3 separate regions of the Homo sapiens genome follow, and all the other regions are linked to region 2. The links are contacts of gene promoters, found by promoter capture Hi-C in blood cells and fetal thymus (Javierre and others, 2016). All regions are on one chromosome and are shown on one strand. Each heading gives the region's core, a stretch centred on a gene start or on the middle of the fragment in contact. The rest is flanking DNA. Distances are from core to core; before and after follow the strand shown. Region 1 has its middle 44 kb from the start of TEX2. Region 2 holds the start of ICAM2 (intercellular adhesion molecule 2). Region 3 overlaps PECAM1 (platelet and endothelial cell adhesion molecule 1).

The links. The method cuts DNA at HindIII sites, captures the fragments that hold promoters and counts their contacts. A CHiCAGO score of 5 or more calls a contact.
Region 1: a fragment that was not itself captured here is called in contact with the fragment with the promoter of ICAM2 in region 2 in 3 of 17 cell types (endothelial precursors, M0 macrophages and M2 macrophages); the score reaches 7.8 in endothelial precursors.
Region 3: a contact is called between a fragment that was not itself captured here and the fragment with the promoter of ICAM2 in region 2, in 2 of 17 cell types (monocytes and M0 macrophages). The highest score is 6.5, in monocytes.

What each region holds. Positions count from the first base shown.
Region 1 is chr17:64,306,049-64,309,406 of GRCh38, reverse strand. It overlaps the pseudogene RPL31P57. Among named protein-coding and RNA genes, the nearest start is that of TEX2, 44 kb to the right of the region's middle. The HindIII fragment of the contact is 4,234 bases long and covers 1-3,358 here.
Region 2 is chr17:64,018,959-64,022,401 of GRCh38, reverse strand. ICAM2 (intercellular adhesion molecule 2) reads left to right here and starts at 1,769. Exons shown (of 5, transcript NM_001099789.2): 1 at 1,769-1,879. RefSeq lists enhancers at 1,330-1,379, 1,600-1,689, 1,435-1,935, 2,030-2,149. The HindIII fragment of the contact is 3,360 bases long and covers 1-2,451 here.
Region 3 is chr17:64,325,922-64,329,587 of GRCh38, reverse strand. The region is part of intron 15 of PECAM1 (platelet and endothelial cell adhesion molecule 1); the gene reads left to right. Among named protein-coding and RNA genes, the nearest start is that of PECAM1, 63 kb to the left of the region's middle. RefSeq lists an enhancer at 3,101-3,180. The HindIII fragment of the contact is 1,557 bases long and covers 633-2,189 here.

The DNA.
Region 1 (3,358 bases), core at 773-3,272, 290 kb before region 2:
ATCCCTTCCCTCATGGAAGTTAGATTCTAGCAGGGGGAGACAGAAATGAACAATAAACGCAGGAGGTAGATTATATGATATGTGAGAAGGTGGAGAAGGCTGGAGGAAACAAAGAATCAAGCAAGTTAAGGGAGGGTGTGAGGGGGTGGGGGAGGCAGCAGTGTTTAATAAGGATGTCTGGGTGAGCCTCATCAAGAAAGTGAATTTTCACTTTGACAGGCCAAGGTGGGTGGATCACTTCAGCTCAGGAGTTTGAAACCAGCCTGGGCAACATGGCAAAACCCCGTCTCCACAAAAAATACAAAAATTAGCTGGGCATGGTGATGCATGCCTGTAGTCCCAGCTACTATGGAGACTTGGGAGGATCAATTGAGCCCAGGAGGTTGAGGCTATAGTGAGCCATGATCACGCCATTGTATGCCAGCCTGGGTGACAGAGCAAGACCCTGTTTCAAAAACAAAACACAAACAAAAAAGAAAGGTTTGAGCTAAGAACTTGCAGGAGACAAGGAAATTAGTCAAGCAGAAGGATATCTGGGGGAATGGCATGCGAGGCAGAAGGGAAAGCTAGGGTCGAGGCCCTCTGGGAAAGAAGCAAGGCCAAGGGGCTGGAGTAGAGGGAGGAAGAGGGGAAGTAGTGGAAGATGAGACTAGCTTTACTACTGATTATGATGTAAGAATAGTGGCCAATTTCCTTTCCAACTTGGGCCCGGCAGAATGGCTCCTGCAAAGAAGGGTGATGAGAAGAAGAAGGGTCATTCCGCCATCAACGAGATGGTGACCCGAGAATACCCCATCAACATTCATAAGTGCATTCATGGAGTGGGCTTCAAGAAGCGTTCCCCTCAGGCACTCAAAGAGCTCCGGAAACTTGCCCTGAAGGAGATGGGAACTCCAGATGCACACTTTGATACCAGGCTCAACAAAGCTGTCTGGGCCAAAGGAATAAGCAACGTCTCATACTGTATCCATGTTCGGTTGTCCAGAAAATGTAATGAAGATAAAGATTTACCAAACAAGCTCTATACTTCGGTTGCCTACGTACCTGTTACCACTTTAAAAAAATCTACAGTCGGTGTGAATGTGAACTAACTGCTAATCATCAAATATACCAAATAAAGTTATAAAATTGTTTTTTGTTTGTTTGTTTGTTTGTTTTTTGGGGGGGTGGGATAGAATCTTGCTCTGTCACCCAGGCTGGACCACAGTGGCGTGATTTTGGCTCACTGCAACCCCCACCTCCCGGGTTCAAGCAATTCTCCTACCTCAGCCTCCCTTGTAGCTGGGACTGCAGGCATGCACCACCATGCCCAGCTAATTTTGGTATCTTTAGTACAGATGGGGTTTCAGCACGTTGGCCAGGCTGGCCTCAAACTCCTGACCTCAAGTGATCTGTCCGCCTTGACCTCCTAAAGCGCTGGGATTAGAGGCATGAGCCACTGTGGGGGCCAAAATTGTTTAAATATATATATATATATATATATATATATATATATATATATATATATATATATATATAATAGTGGCCAGGCATGATGGCTCATGCCTGTAATCCCAGCACTTTGGGAGGTCAAGGCGCTTTGGGAGGGCAAGATGGGAGGATCCCTTGAGCCCAGGAGTTCGAGACCAGCCTGGGGAACATACAGAGATCCTGTCTCCAAAAAAATGTTTTAAATTAGCCAGGTGGAGTGGTGCATGCTTGTGATCCCAGCTACTCAGGAGGCTGAAGCAGGGGGATCACCTGAGCCTCAGGGGTCAAGGCTGCAGTGAGCCGTGATGGCTCCACTGCACTCCAGCCTGGGCAACAGAGTGAGATTTTGTCTCAAGAACAGAAGCCACTAATTGTAAATAGATTATAGTTCTTCATAGGCTTGTTCTAAACCCCTGCTACTCAAAGCGTGCTCTTCAAATCAGCAGCATCACAATCACTTGGCCATTGTTAGAAATGCAGAACCTTGGCCAGGACAACGGCTCATGCCTGTAATACCAGCACTTTGGGAGGCTGAGGTGGGAGGATCGCTTGAGCGCAGGAGTTTGAGGCTGCAGTCAGCCGTGATCACGCCACAGCACTCCAGCCTGGCTGGCAGAGTGAGACCCTGTCTCAAAAAAAAAAAAAAAGAAAGAATCTTGGGACCCATTACAGGTCTACGAAACTATAATCCTAATTAGCAAGATCCCCAGATTATGGAAAAGACACCACGTGCCTTTATAAATATATGGGCACTGCCAACATCATATGCTTTACCAAATAACAGCCTTAGTTGATTGAGACAAAACGAGTTTTCTTGCCTTAAGTTGCCCTTTCACAAGGGTTTTTGAGGACCAGGACCTACCAAGTGCGCCACCTGGTGGCAGCACAGATAAAATTTACACTCTAGGACCAAGATCACGTGTAGAATTCAAATAGCATAAAGTAATTATAGTTTTAACACAATTGGCTTGGACTTTTCAAAAATATCCATGTCAGAAAAGATCAAAATGGTCTGAAAAACTGCTCTAGATTAAAAGAGACCAAAGGGTCTGAACCGCTAAATGCAATCTGTTCAAAAAGCTATTCAAGGGCAGGCACGGTGGCTCATGTCTGTAATCCCAGCACTTTGGGAGGCCAAGGTGGGTGGATCACCTGAGGTCAGGAGTTTGAGACCAGTCTGACCAACATGGTGAAACCCTGTCTCTATTAAAAATACAAAAATTAGCCAGGCATGGTGACAGGCGCCTGTAATCCCAGCTACTCGGGAGACTAAGGCAGGAGAATTGCTTGAACCCAGGAGGCAGAGATTGCAGTGAGCCAAGATCGTGCCACTGCACTCTAGCCTGGGCAACAGAGCGAGACTCCATCTCAAAAAAAAAAAAAAAAAAAAAGCTAGTCAAGTACATAATTGGGCCAATTGGGAAAATTGAATATGGAATATATATCACAATATAGTATTAATGTTAAATTTCTTTCTTTCTTTTTTTTTGAAACAGTGTCTTGCTCTGTCATCCAGGCTGGAGTGCAGTGGCATGATGGTGGCTCACCGCAGCCTCAACCTCCTGGGCTCAAGCAATCTTTCCACCTCAGCCTCCGAGTAGCTGGGACCACAGGTGTGCGTCACCATGTCTGGCTAATTTTTTGTAAGTTTTGTACAGACAAAATTTCGCCATATTGCCCAGGCTGGTCTCAAACTCCTGGGTTCAAGTGATCCACCTGCCTCAGCCTCCCATAGTGCTGGGATTACAGGCATGAGCCACTGTGCTTAGCCTAATGTTAAATTTCTCAAGCATGGTAATATACTGTAATTATATAGAATGTCCTCATTCTTAGGGGATACATGGTGAAGTAATATTAGAAATATGATGCCTGCAACTAACTTTCAAAA
Region 2 (3,443 bases), core at 520-3,019:
CCAGTCAGAATTACCACTAAAAAAAAAAAAGAAAAAAGGTTAAGATGGTAGATTTTGTTGTGTATATTTTACCATTATGATCCAGCATTTCCACTTCTGGGTACATACCCCAGAGAACTGAAAGCAGAGTCTTGAGCAGGTATTTGTACAACCCTGTTTGTAGCAGCACTATTCACAATAGCCAAAGGTGGAAGCAACACAGGTGTCCATCAGTATATGAATGCATGAACAGAATGCGGCACACACGCACAATAGGATATTGCTCAGCCTTCAAAAGGAAGGCAGTTCTGGCCAAGCGTGGTGGTTCATGCCTGTAATACCAGCACTTTGGGAGGCTGAGGTGGGCGGATCATTTGAGGTCAGGAGTTCGAGACCAGCCTGGCCGACATGATGAAACCCCATCTCTACTAAAAATACAAAAATTAGCCAGTCGGCACGTGCCTGTAATCCCAGCTACTCAAGAGGCTGAGGCAAGGCCAGGCACGGTGGCTCATGCCTGTAATCCCAACACTTTGGGAGGCCAAGGCGGGCGGATTGCCTGAGCTCAAGAGTTTGAGACCAGCCTAGGCAACATGGTGAAACCCCATCTCTGCTAAAATACAAAAGAAATTAACCAGGCGTGGTGGCGTGCACCTGTAGTCCCAGCTACTCAGGAGGCTGAGGCAGGAGAATTGCTTGAACTCGGGAGGCGGAGGTTGCAGTGAGCCGAGATCACACCACTGCACTCCAGCACTCCAGCCTGGGCGACAGAGTGAGGCTCCATCTCTACAAAACAAACAAACAAACAAACAACAACAACAACAACAAAAACACTGAGGCAAGAGAATCGTTTGAACCTGGGAGGCAGAGGTTACAGTGAGCCAAGATCACACCACTGCACTCCAGCCTGGGCAACAGAGCGAAACTCCATCTCAAAAAAAAAAAAAGAAAGAAAAGAGAAAGAGAGAGCTCCAGAGATGGATGGTGGTGATGGTTGCAGAACAATGTGAATGTACTTAGTGCCCCAAACTGTACACTTAAACATAATTAAAATGGGCCTAGCACGGTGGCTCATTCCCAGCATTTGGGAGGCTGAGGTGGGAGGATTGCTTGAGCTCAAGAGTTTGAGACCAGGCTGGGCAACATAAGCAACACTCTGTCTCTACAAAAACTACAGAAATTAGCCAAGCCTGGTGGCTGCACACTTGTAGTCCCAGTCACTTGGGAAGTTGAGGAGGGAGGGTCACTTGAGCTCAGGGGTCAGAGGTTGCCACGAACTGTGATTGTGCCACTGCACTCCAGCCTAGGTGACAAAAGCAAGACTCTGTCTTAAAAACAACACAACAAAAAATTGGCTGGACGCAGTGGCTCTTGCCTGTAATCCTAGCACTTTAGGAGGCCGAGGAAGGCAGTTCACTTGAGGTCAGGAGTTCGAGACCAGCCTGGCCAACATGGTGAAACCCTGTCTCTACTAAAAATACAAAAATTAGCCAGGCGTGGTGGCAGGTGCCTGTGGTCCCGGTTACTCTGCGGGCTGAGGCACAAGAATCACGTGAACTCGGGAGGCAGAGGTTGCAGTGAGCCGAGATCACACCACTGCACTCCAGCCTGGGTGACTGAGACTCAGTCTAAAAAAAAAAAAAAAATTGAAATGGTAAATTCTGTTGTGTACGTTTTACCACAATTAAAAAAAAAAAAAGCGGAATGGGAGTGGAGCTAAATGAGGCTAGTTTAGGGTGGGAACCGGGGCACAGGAAGCACGTCACTTCTGGTGGGGAGTGGGGGGAGGGAGAAGACTGAATAAGCCGTGAACTGGGCAGCTGTGACACGCGCACCTTGTCACCTTGTCACCAATTTCCTGCCCGGGATCCCAGAGCTACCCTTCTTGGAGCCCACAGGGGTAAGGTTGAGCTTCTCACTTTCCCTCCAATGAAGCGTGGCAGCATGGGAAGGATTTTGGCAGTGTCGAGGTCTGAGTTTTAGTCCGTTCCCCTCTCTGGGTCTCAGTTTCTCGCTGGTAAGTGCAGGGGTTGGGGAATCCCCAGCGCTCCTGTGGCTCGACATTCTGCACTCTGTGAAGCTCCTGCCCTGCCCTGCTGGGTCTCTGAGCTCACGCACTTGCCCTGGCGCTCCTTTCCTGATTTGTCTCCCCTCTCTCCTTCCTCTGCTCTGCCATCTCGGTGGCCGATGTAGAAATGTGGGGCTGCCTCCTTATTTAGGGGCCCACGTGGGCTGTGATCTGGACCATCTGAGCTGATGCAGAGGGGAAGGGACAGTCCCTGTTCTCCCCGGCAGGCGTGGTGGGTTCATAATGAATCTCAGTCACTCACTTCCTACCTGCCTCGGTTCGAGGGGGTCTTTCCTAACCCATGGCTCACATTCCCATGAAGCCTCTTCTTTCTAGGCACGTAGAAAGGCCCTTTTTCCCTTTTATTATTTTTGTAAAATTTACTAGGTAACGCATAAAAAGCTTATGTAACATACATATACATCATACTGCACAGTAATATACCAAACACACCTGAAGCTGCCACTCAGCACAAGGATGGAGTATCACCAAACTGCAAACACCACTTATCTGCTTTTTTTTTTTTTTTTTTTTTTTGAGACAGAGTTTTCATTCTTGTCGCCCAGGCTGGAGTGCAGTGGCACAATCTTGGCTCACCACAACCTTCGCCTGCTGGGTTCAAGCGATTCTCTTGTCTCAGCCTCCCAAGTAGCTGGGACTACAGGTGCGCATGCCACCATGCCCAGCTAATTTTTGTGTTTTTGGTAGCGACAGGGTTTCACTATGTTGGCCAGGAGAGTCTCGATCTCTTGACCTCATGATCCGCCCACCTCGGCCTCCCAAAATGCTGGGATTACAGGCGTGAGCCACCACACCTGGCCACCACTTGTCCACTTTTATGCTACTTGCCTCCCACCCACAGGTAGCCACCCTCTGGAATTTTGTGTTTATTGTTCTCTTATTTTTAAGTGCTTTATTACATATGCATCTCTATTTATTTATTTATTTATTTATTTACTGAGATGGGGTCACACTATATTTCCCAGGCTGGAGTGCAGTGGCTATTCACAGGCATGATCATAGCACACTACAACCTCGAACTCCTGGGATCCAGTGATCTTCCCACCTCAGCCTCCTGATTAGTTGGGACTACAGTCTTGAACTGCTGCACCTGGCTATGCCTATTTATTTTTATTTTATGAAACAGTTATATAGCGTTACTGTGTGCTAGGCACTGTTCTAAATGCTTTAAAATATTTACTTATTTTATTTGTTTAATCTGCACAAAAACCCTATGAGGAAGATACTATTATTGATTCCTTTTTGCAGATGAGGAAATTGAGGCACAGAAAGATTAAGTGATTTGCTCAAGGTCACACAGATAGTGAGAAGTAAGGCCGGGAGCAGTGGCTCATGCCTGTAATCCCAGCACTTTGGGAGGCCAAGGCAGGAGGAT
Region 3 (3,666 bases), core at 162-2,661, 310 kb before region 2:
TGTTTCAGACCAGAAGCCCTGGGCTTCTCTGACTAGCCTTGGCCAGTTCTGATTTCGAATATTCTCTCCTGCAATTTCCATCATTACATCTCAGCCCACACGTGAAGGGATTGGGACTCTGGGGTGCTTAGCGCCAAACAAGCAAAGCACACATTTCGTTTAACGCCAAAGTCTAGGCTCTGGAAGTGAGGCAGATCTAGGGTGTATGCTTGGAGGAGTGGAGCAGCTGACAGCTCATTGCAATTTAGCCGATTCTAATTACCCCCTACACACCAGGCCATCAGCTGCAGGAGACACCCAAGCTTCTTGACCTCAGTTCACCTTCTGATGAGGGAATCAGACATGTGATCACTTATCATAAAGCAAAGTGAGCTATGCCAGAGCCTATGGGAACACAGAACAGAGACCTAGCTAGTGGCCTCTTCCCCAAGGAATCATTTGGAATGGGCCATGAAGAATGAATGGAGTGATGGCAGCATTGAGGGAGAAAGATCAGCAGGAGCACAAGGGTGAGGGATGACCAGTTTCAAGCAGTGTGGGATGGGAAAAGAAGAGTGTGACAGTGACAAGTGACGGGAGAAAGATAAGTCAGGGCTTAAATCCAAAGGATTTACATGCCTTGTTAAGAAGCTTCATTCTGTAGGAAATGGAGTTAGGAATCTGCTATTTGGCAGATGGGAGGGTTTATGAAAGACACAGAGGCCCACGTTCAACTTTTGCAAAGACGTGTCTTCCAATCCCAACCTTTTTGTGAGCTACCCAGCAATGCAGGAGTTAACTGGGCAGCTAATATCTGAAGAAATGAGGCATTTGCCGCATAAACTTCTTTTAGGTCTGGGAAGAACTTTCAGCAAGATTTCTGGTAGCTCTTCCAGTGGGCCCCTGGCTTCCTTTGTTTTGCCCATGTCTGGACTCTTGTAAAACAGAGCTCATTATGCCTTTGACAGACAGGAAGCCACTGACATTCTTTTTATGGAAGAAAGCTATGAATTTAAGGAAAAGAGGAATGAAATGAATGGTTGTTTTTTTTCCTAGCCAAAACCCACTCAGACTCCTGAAATCAGAGACTATCGTGTCACTGGGACAAGGAGCCCAATTTACAGATGAGGAAACTGAGGCCTGCACTGGTAGAATAGCGTGTCTGGGGTCACCTGGATGGCTAATAGAGTGAGGAACAGAGCCCAGGCCTCTATACTCTGCGGCCAGTCCTCTGTCACGACAGAGACTCCCTCCAAGATGTGAAGTTGCTGTCCCAGCAATAATGGCTTTGAGAGAGTGGAAAATGAGGTCTTTGCTCCCTGGGCAGTGCGGGACACAGATGTGTTCTCCTGAAGCGATAAACATGGCTGGGTCCACCCAAAACACCCTGTAGGACCAACTTATTTACTTTGTCTTGGATCCAAAGGGTGTCTCTGGACAAAGGCTTGGAGCTCCAGGCCAGACAGAACTTTACCCAGAAGCTGGCCCTTGGGCCTCAAAGTCTGCTCCCAGGATGGTTCTGAGAGCTCACCCATGACTGGTCCTGTCCCCCCAGAAAAAAGAATAGAGTCATTTGATGGGAGCACAGGGTTTCCAGCCGTTGGGAAAGGAATTTTGAACCTTTAAGCAAATGGGTTTTGTTTATAAAAGAAGCAGGTATAGCTTCCCTAATAATCAGCTGGTGTGGGTCAGGAGAAAATTAATTGAATTGCCCAGTGGGGAAATGGGAGGAGATTTCCTTCCTGAAATCAAACCTGGCGATCATTCCCAGTTGTTTAATGGCCGTTGCCTCTGAAAACATTGGAGGAAATATCTTAACAATGAGATAGCCACGTAGCCAAAGACTAATTTGGTATTGTTTGACTTGCTTCAATGGCACATTCTGACTTCATTTTTCCTCTGCCATTTTTACCTTGTTTATAAATTGTGTGTGTGGCCGACGCAGACAGATAGCATGGAAGAGAACACCCTGTACTTAAATGAAAGGGGTGAATCTGGACTTGTGAGAGTCTTGGGATCTTGGAAAGGACCCTGCCTTCTTACAGAAAGAAAGGCAATTGGCAGCTATAGCTCGCCTCCCCCCTTCCTGGAGGCCAGGAGGCAGCTGGGCTACAGTGGAAACTGTCCAGGTGCTAGGATCAGGGGATGGGAGGGGAGCTCCAGCTTTCCAGCTGTCTTTTGGGTGAGCCTGTCTTCCTCAAGCTCAAGCTTCCTTATCTATAAAGTGGAGATGGTGATGACAATGATGATAAGAGCAACCTATTAGGATTTTAAGGATGAAATGAGCAACTGCAACCACCATATAAAAGCTGCAAGCTGCAAACCACCATATAAAAGCTGGTTGATCTCAAGCTCTTTTCATCACTTGGGCAATAGTAGGTGTGGATGGGGGACTTAACTTGATTTGGCCATGAAATGACCCTGCCACATATGGAGAATGTAGCAGTTGCTTACCCAAGGCATAGGATTCAACCAAGGCCAGGCTTTGACTTAGGAATCAGAGACCCACATTAACACTTGACTTCCCACTTCTTAGCCATGTCACCATGGGCAAATTTCTTGGCCTCTCAAGACCTCTACTTCCTAATCTGTAAACTGGGAATCATAAACTCCCTCACTTGGTTGTTGCAAGGGTTGAATGAGCACCTGGCATAGACCTGGTCTATTGCAAGTGCCCACAGGAGCACTTTGTAGAAGCAGGAACTAGAGATCCCAGGGTGTGTTGAAATCAAAATGACCTTTGAGGGAGACCACACCATATTCCGGGTACAAGGCAGGGCGATTTCACAACTGCACTTGGGTGGCTGATGGCTGGCTTCTGATTTAAGCACAGCAAGCCCAGACCTTGGATGTGAGCGTGTTAACCTTTACTTCAAAATCCCTAAGGCCCTGTTGATTGTGGCCCAGCCCTTCCTGTCTGTGGCTTTGGTTCTGCAATGGTGCCCCAGGCATTGGCTGCCCCCACAGAGAGAGAGCGGAGGTGTCTGGGGAGGGACTTGGTCTGGGGCCCACAGAAAGGCTGGACACCAGAGTCATGTCTCCCCCATCCAGGCAGAGCAGAGGAAATAGGGCAGGGTGGCTGCCGGCGCTGGCAGGCCTCCAGCCTCTGGGGCCAGCACGGCTTGCTTGGCCCACTTGCATGGGGCTCTCCTGGCAGAGGAGGGGCCAGAGCCTTGGCTTTCTAGTTGGGGCACCTCGGCCCTGCATCCTGTTCCCCAAGGGTCCTTGGACCCAGCAGGGCTGAAACAAAATGGAGACACTATCCCAGCTCACCCTCAGGAAGCCAGCCAGGCTGGCTGTGGAGGTCCCAAGACCCTGGGTCATCCTCCATCTCCAGCTTCTGCCTTGCTGAGTTCCACCTGCAGCAGAGTGTCCTGTGCACATGGAGGGTCCAGAATAGTGGACTTAGGTGCTGCCTGCTCTTCAGGGCCCACTGTTGCCCAGGGCCCCCCTCTACTCTGGTATCTCCCAGCAGGCCCTGCTCTTTTTCCCTCCAAGGGCTCCTTCCATTTGTCAAAATCCAATCTTTAGGCTGACTCCAGAGTTGCTTCTGTGAATCCCCCACTGCCCAGCCCAGAGCCCTCTCAGTGCCTCTGAACCCCTTCTGCAGTTTGTTGAGACCTCTTATACCTTCTACTTCATAGTGGTGTTGTTTATCAATAATTGATACAATATAAAATTCTTGGG